Linked DNA regions of Homo sapiens: region 2 is linked to region 1. The links are contacts of gene promoters, found by promoter capture Hi-C in blood cells and fetal thymus (Javierre and others, 2016). All regions are on one chromosome and are shown on one strand. Each heading gives the region's core, a stretch centred on a gene start or on the middle of the fragment in contact. The rest is flanking DNA. Distances are from core to core; before and after follow the strand shown.

Region 1 (7,498 bases), core at 3,850-6,349:
GATGTGGGAAACTCTTGGTGTGCCTTAAGTCATGTTCAGAATTAAAGTAACCCTTGTAGACAAGAGTCTGTAAATTTTATAAAATACTCTCCAAAGGTAACCTTCTACCAAACTAAAAACAATAATACAACTCATCATTGAAAACAATGACATTCAGTCTCAGCTCCAAAAATGAGCTATTGCTCCAGAGTTCAAGTTTGCAGATTGGAAGAGTCAAAAAAGCTGAGAAAGCCATGAAGCAAAGAAAGGGTGTCATTCTTAAAGATGCTGTGCTTACTTCTTTATTCTTCCTTCTATCACTCAATGCTATCGTCTAGTGTCACTCAGGCCTCCACTCAATTACCTGTGATGTGCAACAGGCATACCAAGGAAACACACAAATTTTTCACCTAGGATAATCCAAATAAAATGGCTGCACCACGTCAGGAAACGTAATATTGTTGATTATCTGCAGTAGAGTCAGATTGTAATTTATTTCTCTCTTTCTTCATTTCAGAAGGTTCTTCTATGGTTATTTTGCCAATGTTACATTTGAATTTCAACACAAGAGAAAGGTATCATCCTGGTCCTCTACTCAAAAACGTCAAAATCGTATCAAGTTCACAAATCAGACATGTTAGGGAAATTGAAACGAGCCAATCAGCTAACAGTTCCCTTTTCAATCCTCTTCACTTCTTTGGAAGACTCTATAAAGTCTTGCCTCTCAAAATCAGCAGCAAAGCTGTAGTTTCACGTAAGTTCCATGTCATTCTACAGATGTGAGTCACTTTATAGGTTATAGGTTCTTATTCTCTCTACTATTCCTGAAATTTATACAGCTATCACCACCTACACTGGGCTACTGACTAAGGTTTACCCACCTACTTTGCTAACCAATCTTTCACTAAAAATCAAGTACTAATTAAAACATCATAGCATGACAATTAATTAAACCTGTTACTAACGACAACCAAAAACATTTTAAAATGATAAAATTTAGAGTAATATTTAAAGAAATGCAATATATCACAATCATCAACAAACTTTAAAGCATAAAATTCTAAATCTTTTTTTTTTTTTTTTGAGACAGGGTCTTGCTCTGTTACCCAGGCTGGAATGCAGAGGTGTAATCTCAGCTCACTGCAGCCTCAACTTCCCAAACTCAAACAATCCTTCCACCTCAGCCTCCCAAGTAGCTAAGAGTACAGGTGTGCACCACCACACCCAGCTACTTTTATAAAAAACTTTTTTTTGTTGAAAGTCTCACTACAGGCTGGTCTCAAACTCATGGGCTCAAGTGATCCGCATGTCTCAGCTTCCTGAAGTGTTGGGATTACAGGCATGAGCCACCACGCCTGGCCCAAACTCTAAATCTGATACTGCTTACTATGCCTCATTTTTGCAAAAGAGAACTCACACATACATACATTCTTTCATATATGCTTCAGGCACAAAAAGTCATAGCATAAATATATAACTATACACTCAGCTTAAAAGATGTCATCTGACAAACTGGACTTCAAAGCCACTTGAGCATCAGAAGTCCTTGCTTAGAATGTATTACAGAAAAAGCCTTTTTTATTCAATACTTTCACCATCTTTCTGAGTACTTTTTCTATATATAACCTAGACTTTTTTCCCCCTTAATTCAGAAAAAGCCTTCTATTTCACTGCCACCAAGTAAGAGTTAACCTAACGAAAATTCAATTTCAAATGCGCAATGCATGTGTTACAATATGCAGGTGACATTCTTCCAATCAATAGAGTTGCTTTCTTCTCCTAATTGCTTTGCTCTCCTATTTCCAGTCATTTATAAACAGAACTATTTTAAAAAGAAGTCAAACCAAAATAAAATAAAAGTAATAATTGTTTGTATCACATTCCCAATATTATCTACTAACTACCATAGTCAGTTCAGTACCCTGCCTCTTAAAGAGGTCCCCTTTTTCAATTTTTCCAAAAAAAATTTCCTCCTCTCCTCCTTCTCCTTGTCCCCCCCATGACCCTGCAGGCTAGTCTGGAACTCCTGGCCTCAGGCAATCCTCCCATCTCAGTCTTTTGAGTAGCTAGGATTACAGGTGCAAGCCACCATAATTCTTTTTCTTTTTTTTTTTTTTTTTGAGACAGAGTTTCACTCTTGTTGCCCAGGCCGGAGTGCAATGGCGTGATCTCCGCTCACTGCAACCTCTGCCTCCCAGGTTCAAGCAATTCTCCTGCCTCAGCCTCCCAAGTAGCTGGGATTACAGGCACGCACCACCACGCCCAGCTAATTTTGTATTTTTAGTAGAAACGAGATTTCTCCATGTTGGTCAGTCTGGTCTTGAACTCCCGATCTCAGGTGATCCACCCACCTTGGCCTCCCAAAGTGCTGGGATTACAGGCATGAGCCACCGTGCCCAGCCAGCATAATTCTTAATTAGAGATATGTGGTGGTTGCTCAACTGATTTAGGAACTTTTAAATACCTACAGTGATATACACTTTTCAGTGATGTCACATTCGCTAAACTAAACTAATAAAGTAGTCAAAGGTTAGGGGAAGAATCCTAAGTTATTTGTGAAGGCAGTACCCTTTCAGGGCTTCAAGTCTTGATGTTTTATTTTATCAGTGTTGCTATTCCCAGCTTAAGTTTCCTTTTATCTGCTCAGTCACTGGTTTACCAATGTTTAAACAGAAAAAAAAAAAAAAACAAAAAACTTGCCTAGTTAGGCCCAGAGCTGTGGCTCATGCCTGTAATTCCAGTACTTTGGGAGGCCAAGGCAGGCAGATCACTTGAGGTCTGGAGTTCTAGACCAGCCTGGCCAACATGACGAAACCTTGTCTCTACTAAAAATACAAAAATTAGCCAGGCATGGTGGCTCATGCCTATAATCCCAGCTACTTGGTGGGGCTGAGGCTGGAGAATCGCTTGAACCCAGGAGAGGGAGATGGCAGTGAGCCAAGATAGTGCCACTGCACTCCAGCCTGGGCAACAGAGCAAGACTCATCTCAAAAACAACAAACAAACAAACAAAAAACTTGCCTAGTTAGTATATAATACATTTCCAATAGGATTTTCCCAATCTTTCTCTGAAGACCACACCTTTAAGTAAGGATGTGGTCTTCAGAGAGAGATCGCATCTAAAAGAAAGGAATGGCTAATTCCTAACAGAACAATTCCTAACAGAAATACAAAATCACTCCTTATTAATGGCTTTGCTAAGATGAATTTTTAAAATTGCTGAAATAAGCTTCATTCAGGTGAATAATTTCTAACCTACTAAAGAGTAATCAATATCCATTGATTGATTGATTGAAATACCCTTCTTCTTCCTAACTACCATAAAGGCGCAGTTGGGATTCAATGACTATTAAATAACTCCAATAAAAACGACTTCAGCAGAGAGGGAAATGAAAAAAGATTTGTCATATTTTCCCCCTAAACATTCACTGGAAATTAGCAAAATGTAAGATTATAATTATGGCCTTAATCAAGAAGAAATCTGACTATACACCTTTTATTATTAAAGTTATAAATTTCACCTGCTGCCATTTTTAAACTAGCATGTTTAAAAACAGGCTACAATTAGAAATTAAACAGGCTACAATTAGAAATAGAATTTTTCTGTTAGTTTGTGAAATTAAACTTTCTATAAAATTTGACCATTCTATACTGTTTAATCATGTACATGCTAATAGAAGGAAAGCATTATTATTCACAGCCTTAATTTTTTTCTTTATTATGTATTTACTTCTTAAATTGACAAAAATTGTATATATTTATGTGTACAACATGATGTTTTGAAATATATGCACATTGAGGAATGGCTAAACTAAGCCTTAATTTTGACAGTTATTCACTATAAGGCTTTTTGGTGTCACTGCGATTATTTCAAATAATTATTATTTAAACAATCAGTTCAGTTTAACGTAGGAACAAGAAAAAATGTTTTACTTTTGATAATGTGTGATATACAAGAAGAAAAGTGTATGTCATTATTATTTATCCTATTAATACATTTCTATCAATGAATTATAATTTCAGTAATCCTTTGCTCACCCTGCAAGGATGAGCGTGGAGAAGAAGAGTGGAGAAGTAACCCACAATGTAACTTAATTTCCCAGCGAGAACCTGAACCCTTACTAAAGTCCCCAGTAGTAGTCAGCCAACTGCAAATTGCTGTGGGAATATTTACAGTAACAACTATTAGGAAACATGCAGTATTTTGTTTGCCACGAAGCCAACTTAATCTTCAGTGTCACAATGCAAGTTAAGATTTCCTAAATATATTTTTAAAGATTTTCTATGATTTGTTTCTCCTAAGTGAATAGTGAGCTTAAAAGACTGAAAGCGAACTTGTCCTTATTTCACTGAAGTGTGTCATCAGACTTCTGATCTCCAAGCCTGTAATTGATACGTGGCTGTTACTAGGCAAAGTCCTTGGCTTTTCAGATGAAGGTGAACTCACACGTATGAACACTTGGGAGTTTGGGGAATCCTGACAGAGATAACACACACCAACGCTCACATCCACCACCAACAACCCGTCTACCCTGACAAGACTGCTCTCCGCTTCTCGCACTGGGCTCCCAGGAGTGCTGCTTAGTTTAAAGAGGAACCGAAAAAGTTTCTCAATGTGCGAGCCCAGTGTGTGGTCAGCGAGCGCCGGGGCGTCGCGCTAGTCCTCTCGTCCCCCGCACAAACCCCCCCTTGGATCAGGAAAAGGCGCTCACCGTTGTGCTCGCGGTATCCCCAGCTGAGCCTCGACATGGTCCCTCGGGGTGGAAGGAAGAGAAAGATGTGACTGAGCAGCGAGAAAGAGGAGGGAGCGGGGAGGGGCCCGGGAAGGAGCCTGCTAGGGCGGGACCGCGGGGCGCCGGCGGCAGGAGTGCGAGACCGTGAACCCGGTCCGGGGCGCTCCCGCCTGCGTCCTCCAGACGGCAGAGGCGTGCGGGGAAGGCGCCCGCGCCGCTGGCTGACTCCTGGGGCGCGAGTCTCTCTTAGTTTGGACTCGGGAATGAGAGATTTGAGTTAGAGGGAGAGACGGAGAGAGAAAGGTTTCCGGGGGGGATCTCCTGCCTTCTGAGGAGTCGTCACTCGGGAGAGGAAAGTGTTGCCTAGAGGACTTCCAGGAAGTGAATGAGTCACCAGAGCCTGGAACTGCCAGGCTGGGAGGTGGGGATCCCGGTGGAGGCGTAAAAGAGGTCGGTGATGGTCGTGGCAGTGATGATTACAAATACAAAACAATAATGACGATGGTAATCACCACCACTGAAAAATAACTACTTATTAAGGGCTTATCGTGGGCGAGGGTCTTAGCTAAGACGTGTACCCACGTTTTCCCATTAGATCCTCTCAGCATTTCCTCGAGAAACACGTGGCTTAAGTTAGAGACACTATGTAACCTGCCCCGGGTCGCTCAGCTAAAGCGGGCGGGGTCGCTGTTAGAGAGGACCAGCTCCCGGTCCTGGGCTGGCTCCATTGCCCATTCATCCTTTCCTTACCTCTTCTCACTCTGCAGGCTTGTGGCTTGGTGAGTGAGGAAACCAAAACCAGTTGTTGAGATTTGGTCCCAAAATTCTGCTGCCCTCCTGACCCCGCAAGAAGGGTTTTCAGGACATCTGCCCTGGATTCTTGGTGGGCTTGTTACCCTAGGACTGGAGTCAGAACTAGCTGCAGAGTCTTGAATTTCTGGCCTGGAGTCGTGAATGTTCTGGGTTCAAAGTGAAAAATAAAAATTGGGTACATGAACCACTTTCTACGTCCTTGTCTCGGGTCAACTGCCTCATATTTTATAAATCCAAGCAACCTCTTTGTAAGGAACCTAGTAAACCAATTTTCAGTAACTCGGATGATTTGGTATGTCAAGATGAATAATGCTCTTAACGTTCTAAGTAAGTATCAGTTCTTGACACCCAATAATAGTGGTTACATGAATGGATGAATGACTGAATAGACCAAAATTGTTAAAGAAATTTTGGTTGGTGGGTCTCAAATACTTCCCAAATTGTTACTTTTATTGCTTGGGTACACAGTTTGTAACCACCCAATGGGTTTACCTTGCCCACTGTCAAGACACAGCTGATTTATCAAGACAGGGGAATTGCAATTCATAAAGGGAAATTCACGTAGAGCCGGCTGTGCAGAGGACTGGAGTTTTATTATTACACAAATCAGTCTCCGCAAGCATTGGGGATCAAAGTTTTTAAGGACAATTTGGTGGGTGGAGGAGAGCCAGTAAGTCGGGAGACCTGGTTGTTTGGGTCAGAGGTGAAATCATAGGGAGTCAAAGCTGTCTTGCATTAAGTCAGTTCCTGGGTGGGGGCCATGGGATCAGATGAGCCAGTTTATCGAGCTGAGTGGTGCCTGCTGATCCATCCAGTGCAGGGTCTGCAACATATCTGAAGCACTGGTCTTAGGCTTTACAATAGTGATGTTATTCCCAGGAGCAATTTGGGGAGGGTCAGAATCATACAGCCTCCAGCTGTATGACTCCTAAACCATAATTTCTAATCTTTTGGCTAATTTGTTAGTCCTGCAAAGGCGGTCCAGTCCCCAGGAAAGAAGGTTTGTTTTGGGAAAGGGCTGTTATTGTCTTTGTTCTAAACTATAAACTATGTTCCTCCTCAAAGTTAGTTCAGCCTATGCCTAAGAATGAGTAAGGACAGCTTAGAAGTTAGAAATAAGATAGAGTTGGTTAGGTCCAATCTCTTTCACTGTTTCAATTATAATTTTGCAGTAGTGGTTTCAAGTTCCTTCTTGTTTAAATTCATAGCGCAGTCTATATAATTTTCTAAAACAGCAACCTAAGTATTGGCAACAATCAAATTACCTTTCATAGGAAACTAGTTAGGTCATCTGTAGAGCATCCATCATTCAATGGACTTATATATATATATATTTTTTTCAGATGGAATTTCGCTCTTGTTGCCCACGCTGGAGTGCAATGGTGCGATCTCGGCTCACTGCAACCTCCACCTCCCAGGTTCAAGCAATTCTCCTGCCTCAGCCTCCAGAGTAGCTGGGATTACAAGCATGCATTACTAGTGGCTAATTTTTGTATTTTTAGTAGAGATGGGGTTTCACCATGTTGGCCAGGCTGGTCTCCAACTTCTGACCTCAGGTGATCCACCCGCCTCGGCCTCCCAAAGTGCTGGGATTACAGATGTGAGCCACTGCGCCCAGCTGCCATTCAATGGACTATTGTCCATTTATAAAAAGAATGAAGATCTCCATGAGCAGAGCAGATATAAAGTGAGTCCTGGGATGTATTGAGGTTGCGGGAGCGGGGGAAGCAAAGGAGCAAAAGAGTGTATATAATAGACTGCATGTTTAAGAAAAAAATAGAAATAAGAAACTGCACACATATTTTCAGATTTTTACCAAAAAAGTAGAGAAAAAGCCATAAATTAATAAAAATAGTTCCTTATAGAGGATGAGTGTGAATGGGGTGGAAGTGTCAGAGGCAATGGAACCACAGCAACTCCATTCAAATCTTATTATATGCTAATTATAATGCATTCACATGCTAAAAGACACT
Region 2 (6,984 bases), core at 2,019-4,518, 620 kb after region 1:
AAGAGAACAACATGAACTAAGCTAATACCATTTTCATACAGTCCATATTTCTTTTCTTGGACAATAAGAGGGATTTCTGAAAGACAGACTTTGCTAAGATAGGCAAAGACCTTGCTGAAATGCAGAAACATTATAAAGGCATTTATAAAATTTATCAACCTAGTGACACTATCAAAACATGAAATAGGGTTTGGGACTTGTTGGTAATCTCCTTATGATCACACTTTTCTTCCACGATGTTTCTAAAATAACTATATGCCTTCTAGAATTTTTACCTGGTTTTAGTGTCAGGTTCACCTGTCTGTTGTTCATGCAATGCATCCTGATAATAAAAACGTTTATGTTTCAATCTTCTGATGCTCTCCAAATCTCCTTAATTTTATAAAATCTAATCTAATTTGCAAGTTTTTCTTCTTGCATTCCAAGTTTAAATTCTTTGGAAAATGCAGATGAATTGGTTAAATTATTTTGCTTTTTCTGATAATCTTCACATTTCTACTCTCCTTCACAGATGTTTATGGAGTACCTACTCTCCAACAGCCATTGAGCTGGGCACAGGGAATACAGCCATTACCACTGTCATTTAACAGTTTTTAGTTTGGTAATGTCAGCAAAAATATTTTGGTGTTTAGTTTTCTCAAATCAACTTCATTTAACAGTTTCTAGTTTAGTGAGGCCAAAAAACATTTGGGCCTTCAGTTTCCTCAACGTCCTAATTTAAAGATGAGCATTATTGAGGAGAAACATGGAAGCAGCGGAGAAACTGCATCATCCTTCCCACTTACCCACCCAAAATTCCTTTTGAAACTATGCATATTCTAAGCAATCAAACTGACTCATCATACTTCCCTTTTTCTTGGTTGAATATAGGGTTTCTTCTTGTTGTTGTTTGAAGTTTTTTAAAGTTTGGTGGCCTCCCTGGCTATCTTCATGTACCTGTCCTGAATTATGACTCAACCCTCCACACTAGTAGGTCCCAGTTACACTAAGAGTTCTTTGGAGAGCACACTAGGTAGCCAAGCTGTATTTAGGGTGGCTTTCCTGTTACTAATTAGTGAAACATTTGTAATGTCAAATATTCCATTTTCAGAGCCTTCTACTCATTCTGAATTCCATTTCCAATTAAGAGTCTATCTTTGTTTTTAATATTATTTTTGTCATTTGTTGTGCTAATCTTAGCTGGAAAAAATTCTAAATCATATAGCCTGATTGTCCTAAACTTCCCTTTGCTTAAATGATGTTTTCTCTTGGTAATCAGAATTAAGCTTGGAGTTTCAAGCCCTTATTTCTTTTCTCAGTTACTCAGAGTTGATGCTCTTTGAAAGGAAAATTAAAATGCTGCATGACCTTTAGCATGTCATTTAACATTTTTGGATGTCAGCATAGTCATTTATAAAATTTCTGGAGTAAAGTTTCTCTTAGAAAACCATATATCCTTTTGGTTTTTCATCCAAAAATGCATACTCATTGTAGGAAAATTAGAAAACACACAAAAGGGGAAAATAATCACACATAATTCCACTTGAAAACCACTTTCAGTATTGTAGTGCATAACCTTTCAAGCTTTAGTCTATGAAATACTGTGTGTATATACACACACACAAATATATGCTCTATTGTATATTATTATACATATTACACAGACTGTTCTGTCATATGAGCTGAATTTACCCTGAGCAATATATGTAACATATCTTTACATCTCCACTGTACCATTTTCATTGTTTGCTTAGGTTTGCATTCCATGGAATTTCCAGAATTTGTTTAATGAATCTGCCATTATTGAGGATTAAGTCTTATTCACTATTATTATAGAAGTGTCACAATGAATATCCTTATATATTTGTATTGCTCACTTATTTTCCTAGGGTGAATGCCCAGAAGTAGTATCTAAGTCTCAGAATATATGCATTTTGGAAGTATTTTTCCCACACTTTCACATTATTTCCAGCACAATATTGTAGTCACTTTTATTTCTGTCCATTAAAGAAAAGTTTATTGAGCCCCTGCTATCTAGGTGAAGGAGATACTAAAGTTAACAAAATAGACAAAGGTTTCTGCCTTCTTGGAGCATACATTCAATAAGGCAGGACAGTCAATAGTCAGATAAATAAAATACCTAGTATATTAGAAGGTGATATGCACAACAGAGAAAAACTAGGGAAGTCACCTAGAGGATTCAATTTCAATAACAGCCTAGATTTTCTGTAGCCACTTCCAGTGTATTATAATCCTGAGTCAAGGTTCTAGGTGTAATTAAATGCTGTGCTTTTTGCTGAGTCAATCAGGCATCCAGATAGTTGAGATGTCTATAATGGCAGTTATTTTTTGTATCTATGCCTATTAGATTATCTGTTTCAAAAGATTATCCTCCACATTTTTTTTTACTGGACAGACCATCTGAAATAAGATCTTTCACCATTAATATTTTTGTTTTTTACCATTAACAATTTTTGGTTTTAATAAACAAAAATTATTTTCCAAAATAACTTCCATCAGTATTTCAATCTGAGATTGTAGATGCTCATGGAGACTGCTACTGTTATTCCTGCTAGGCCCCTCTATCCACCCTTCTTACTTGGTGTTTCCTTCAGCAGCACCCTACCGTGATGGTCCTCCCCATCAGCACTCTATCCCCCGATATTTCTCAACAAAATGTTATGATTTTACTTACCATTTTCTGTGATGATTTCTTCAGAATTTAACTGCAACATGAGTTGATGTAAAAATATATTCATTTACTCTTTTGGTGAATATTAATAATCACCTACTCTGTAGGACTTAAATAATGTAGTAGGTAAAAGTAAGTTTGTCTACCCTCAAAGGAATTTATATTCTAACAAGGGAAATAGACAAGCAAATAAATGTTCACAAATTAGGAAGCACCGTGAAGAAAATACACAATCATGCCTATTGGGGATCATAATGGGATAGGGAGTGAGGAAGGCCTTTTTGAGGAGGTGTTACTAAATCTGAAACTTGAAAGATGAGGAAGAGCCAGGGAAACTAAGAACTAATTAAAATTAAGATGTGTGAATGCAGGAAGAAAATATTCATGGGCTGAGAAGTTGCATAAATGTTGGTGACTATGGAATAATGAAAAGAGGAAAGAGTTACTTAAGAAAAGAGGAGCGAAAAATACCAGCCAAACTGTATCAAGTTTAGTAGTTAGGATTGTACTCTGCATCTAACAGTAAGTCATTGAAAGGTATTACACAATGAGTGGCATTAGTTGTATTTATATTTTTAAAAGATTACTTTGAGATTCCAGAGAATAGATTGAAAGACGGCAAAAGAGAAAGACGAAACAGCAATCAGGAGTCTAATATAACGGTCCAAATGGAGAATTTTAGAGTGGATCAACTTTTGACAATGGAAATAGACATGAATTTAGTGGGGTACAATTTGAAATAGATTTGATAGGGTACATTGAAGGATTGAATTTAAATATGGGCATTAAAGAAGAGAGAGGAAACAGACGGGTGTGAGATTTCTCATTTGAACAGTGAAAGAATGGATGGTCATATCATTCATTATGGTGGGAAAGTGAAAAACATCAATAATTCAATTTTATCTATAAGACCTCAGCTCATAGAATAGGTCTGAGCTAGAGAAATAAATCTGGTATTTAACAGAATACAGAGAAAGAAGTGAAAGAGACAGGGGAAAAGAAGCTGAGAAAGAGTGGCCAGAAATGCACGAAGAAATCTAGGAGAACACAGGAAGAAAGTGTTTCTTTCTTCTGCAGGAAGAAAGAAATGCTGTATGTATTAAAGAGACCCTAGGAGATAAAAACTGAAAATTGTCCATGAATTTGGAATCCTAGCCACTCGATAAGACCTCTCTCTGGAGAGCAGTGAAAGGCACACTAGATGACTGTAAAATTAAGAATGACAGTATTTCCATTGAGGCTTCCTCCCAGCTATGCCTTAGTATAAAAACATCATCTGGGATAGGGATTTCAGGTACCCAGATTCTGAACAAAGAACTGGAAAATTATCATGGTCTAAGAGAGAGATCATTCCAAAAAGACTGATCACCCTGCGAGAAAAAATAGGAGGGATTATTTGACCTGGAAAGACGAATGCTAAGTTGAAGACTTCAGAAGCCCTTTTTAGGTCATTCAATCCAACCCTGAAAGGTTAAGAACCATATGCTTCTATTGTTGCAGTAATTTAAAAGCGTTGTAACAGATTTTGGATATTAAATTGAAGATACATTGTTAAAGAGCAAGAGTGTACCAGAGGCAGTATAAATGTGTAAGGTGAAGGGAGATAATAGTACTAATTTTTTCTTTGTCTAGAATCAGTTCTTTACATTTTCCTTGGAATAGGGGTTTAATTGACTGGTCTGTCAGTGTCACACGAAATAAGGCTGTGAAAGCGCAGCAAACTGTAAGGTGCTCTACCAATACCATTTATTGTTACTCTCTTCTAAAACATTATTGATTAAAGGTTGAAGACTAATATTTATTAAAACTTGGCAGGATCATACACAAAATAGAATGCAGCTTGACAATATACTTGTGTACAGTCAATCACCTGCTTTAAATGAATTCCAAATTTGATTCAGACTTAACAAAGTTTCTCAAGTAGTTATATATTTATGCTTTTTCAGTGTCTCTAAACAATTTTTAAAATCAATATTCCTGGATTAATTAATGTTTTTCAGGAATCTCAATTTTCATTTTAAATAATCTGAAGCTGGTTCTGAATACTCACTGAATTAATTTTTATGTTCCTTGTCAAAGAGAACCTAAATTTTTAGAGGAATATTCTGAAAATTTAAATGTCTTTTATTCCAGCTAGTGTTTGACTGGATTGATTTTCTTAATAAACAAAATCAGTGTGAGGAAATGTGAAGAAATGACTCCATCGTGTGGTCAGAAACTAATAATACAACAGAAGTGGAGAATGAGAGGTCTTTAGACATTCAGAATTTCACTGACAAATCATGCAGAGAGTAAAGCTTGGGCGGAATTCGCACAATGCAGGCGCACAAATGCCGCCGCCTAGTGGCACAGCCTGGAATTCTCACATGCAGCTTTATCTCAGTATGTTCAACTTAAACGTATTTTCCGCTCTTATTAAGTGTTCTCTAACTTAGTAAATTACAAAAGTTCAAAAGTCAAACTATAGTACTGAGTGTTATCTCTTATCTCATTTTTATTATATCACATACTCCTGTATACAAATATCACATCCTGTTATTTTACTTCCTAAATATTTATCATTTTCAGCCTTTTTTTTCTTTGCTAACTCTGCTATATTTTTGTCATATTTTACTTGGATAAGTGCCCCTGTCTCTGAATTACCTTTTAGCGTGTTTCTCTTTTTATCACTTCCCACTCCCTCCACATAACCACAACCACAATGACAACCACAGTGACATGTGACTTGACCATGACACTCTTCTGTTTAACCCCATCAAGGGAGCCCCTCCACCACTGGTTAAGGTTCCAGCTCTAACAAAAACTCCTGCTGACATTCCTTATCATTCACCACTCTTTGCTTTATTCTTTATATTCTGGTCATCCTGAGAGCTTGTATGGTGTAACAGAATCTTTGATTTCAGACTTCCAGAGTTTTAAACCTTGGATTTGCTATACATTGTTGGCAAGTTGCTTAACCTCTTTGTGCCTCAGTTCCCTGAACTAATGAATTTAGGTAATTATGGTATCTACTTTATGGGATCTCTATGAAGGTTAAAATAATAAAGCACTTAGAAAAGTTAGCTGATAAATAGTAAATGCTAATCAGAATTTAAAGCTACTACTAGTACTATTCATGAGCTTCTTGATACTTACCAAATACACTCTCTCTATAATGTTTGGTGCTTCACAGTGTTTTTACTTCTTCTATTTCTGTTGTCTGGAAAGTGCTTGCCATACAGTACACTTTCCTAACTTCTCATCTACTAAAATTTAGCACAGGAGACAATTCCAGGAAGAGTTCTTTACTTCTGCCCGAAGCTATTTTCCTATTGCATCCTATAATTACTATATCATTTCATTTACTATAATACAATAAAACCATTTGTGCCCATCATCCCAATTAGCCCCAGGTCATTAGGGTAGAGATTGTTTCATAAGGTACCAGTAATGTTCAATTAAGGACTGTGAAATTGAACCAAATTAAAATCAACTTGCTTGAAAGACAGTTTCATCACTTTCTTTTCAACATAATTTTACATGTAAACTTGTTTTTCATATTTTGAAAAGGACACTATGACATAATTCTAAGATATACTGTAACACTATTCAAATAAACTCCAGTTTCTGTGTACTCTGTGACTTTCAAATTATCTATGAATGCATTTCTCTATATGTATAAAAAGACTATATGATGTCAATGATGTCAGTATGACTTATGTTTACTTATGGGCACAGAAGTTTAGGAGAAATTTTGGGAGGTAAAAGACAAGAGCCCCTGAAGGTTACATTGAAACATCTGACAGGATTATTCTATGGAAAAGGAAAGAATGACTCTATTTTGTTTCACAATTCGATAGGGTAAGTCAAGAGGCAGTGTGCAAAAGATTTAAACCTAAAACAAGTGTGGTAGGCAGACTAATGTTCCCCAAAGACGTCCATGTCCTAATCCTTGTAGACTGTGAATATGTAATCTTACAAGACAAAAAGAGGCCTTTGCAGATGGCATTAAGGTTGTGGACCTTGAGATGGGGAGATGTCCTGATTATCCAGAAGTGCTCAATCTAATCACATGCATCCTTAAAAGCAGAGAACCTTTTCTAAGTGCAGTCAGTCAGAGGAAGATATGACCATAGCAGAAACACACAGAGAGATGCAATGGTGCTGGCATTGAAGATGAAAAAGGGGGCCATGCGCCAAGGAATGTGCATGGCCTTTAAAAATCAGAAAAGACAAGGAAAAGGATTCTTTCCTATAGCCTCCAAAAAGGAACACAAAACTTACTGAAACTTTGACTTTAGCCCAGTAAAACCCACGTTAGGCTTCTGACTTAC

Evidence for each region. Contacts are between HindIII fragments. The CHiCAGO score rates a contact against its expected background, and 5 or more counts as called.
Region 2: a contact is called between a fragment that was not itself captured here and the fragment with the promoter of CA13 in region 1, in 6 of 17 cell types (M1 macrophages, megakaryocytes, endothelial precursors and 3 more). The highest score is 7.7, in M1 macrophages.

What each region holds. Positions count from the first base shown.
Region 1 is chr8:85,243,059-85,250,556 of GRCh38, reverse strand. It overlaps CA13 (carbonic anhydrase 13), which reads right to left and starts at 5,099. Exons shown (of 7, transcript NM_198584.3): 1 at 4,692-5,099. The coding sequence starts at 4,728. LOC105375936 (a long non-coding RNA gene) reads left to right here and starts at 7,072. Exons shown (of 3, transcript XR_929126.3): 1 at 7,072-7,212. RefSeq lists an enhancer at 4,295-4,404 and a silencer at 4,765-4,844. The HindIII fragment of the contact is 11,713 bases long and covers 3,211-7,498 here.
Region 2 is chr8:84,624,304-84,631,287 of GRCh38, reverse strand. All of the region lies in intron 2 of RALYL (RALY RNA binding protein like), which reads right to left. Among named protein-coding and RNA genes, the nearest start is that of RALYL, 440 kb to the right of the region's middle. RefSeq lists an enhancer at 4,840-5,134. The HindIII fragment of the contact is 3,405 bases long and covers 1,566-4,970 here.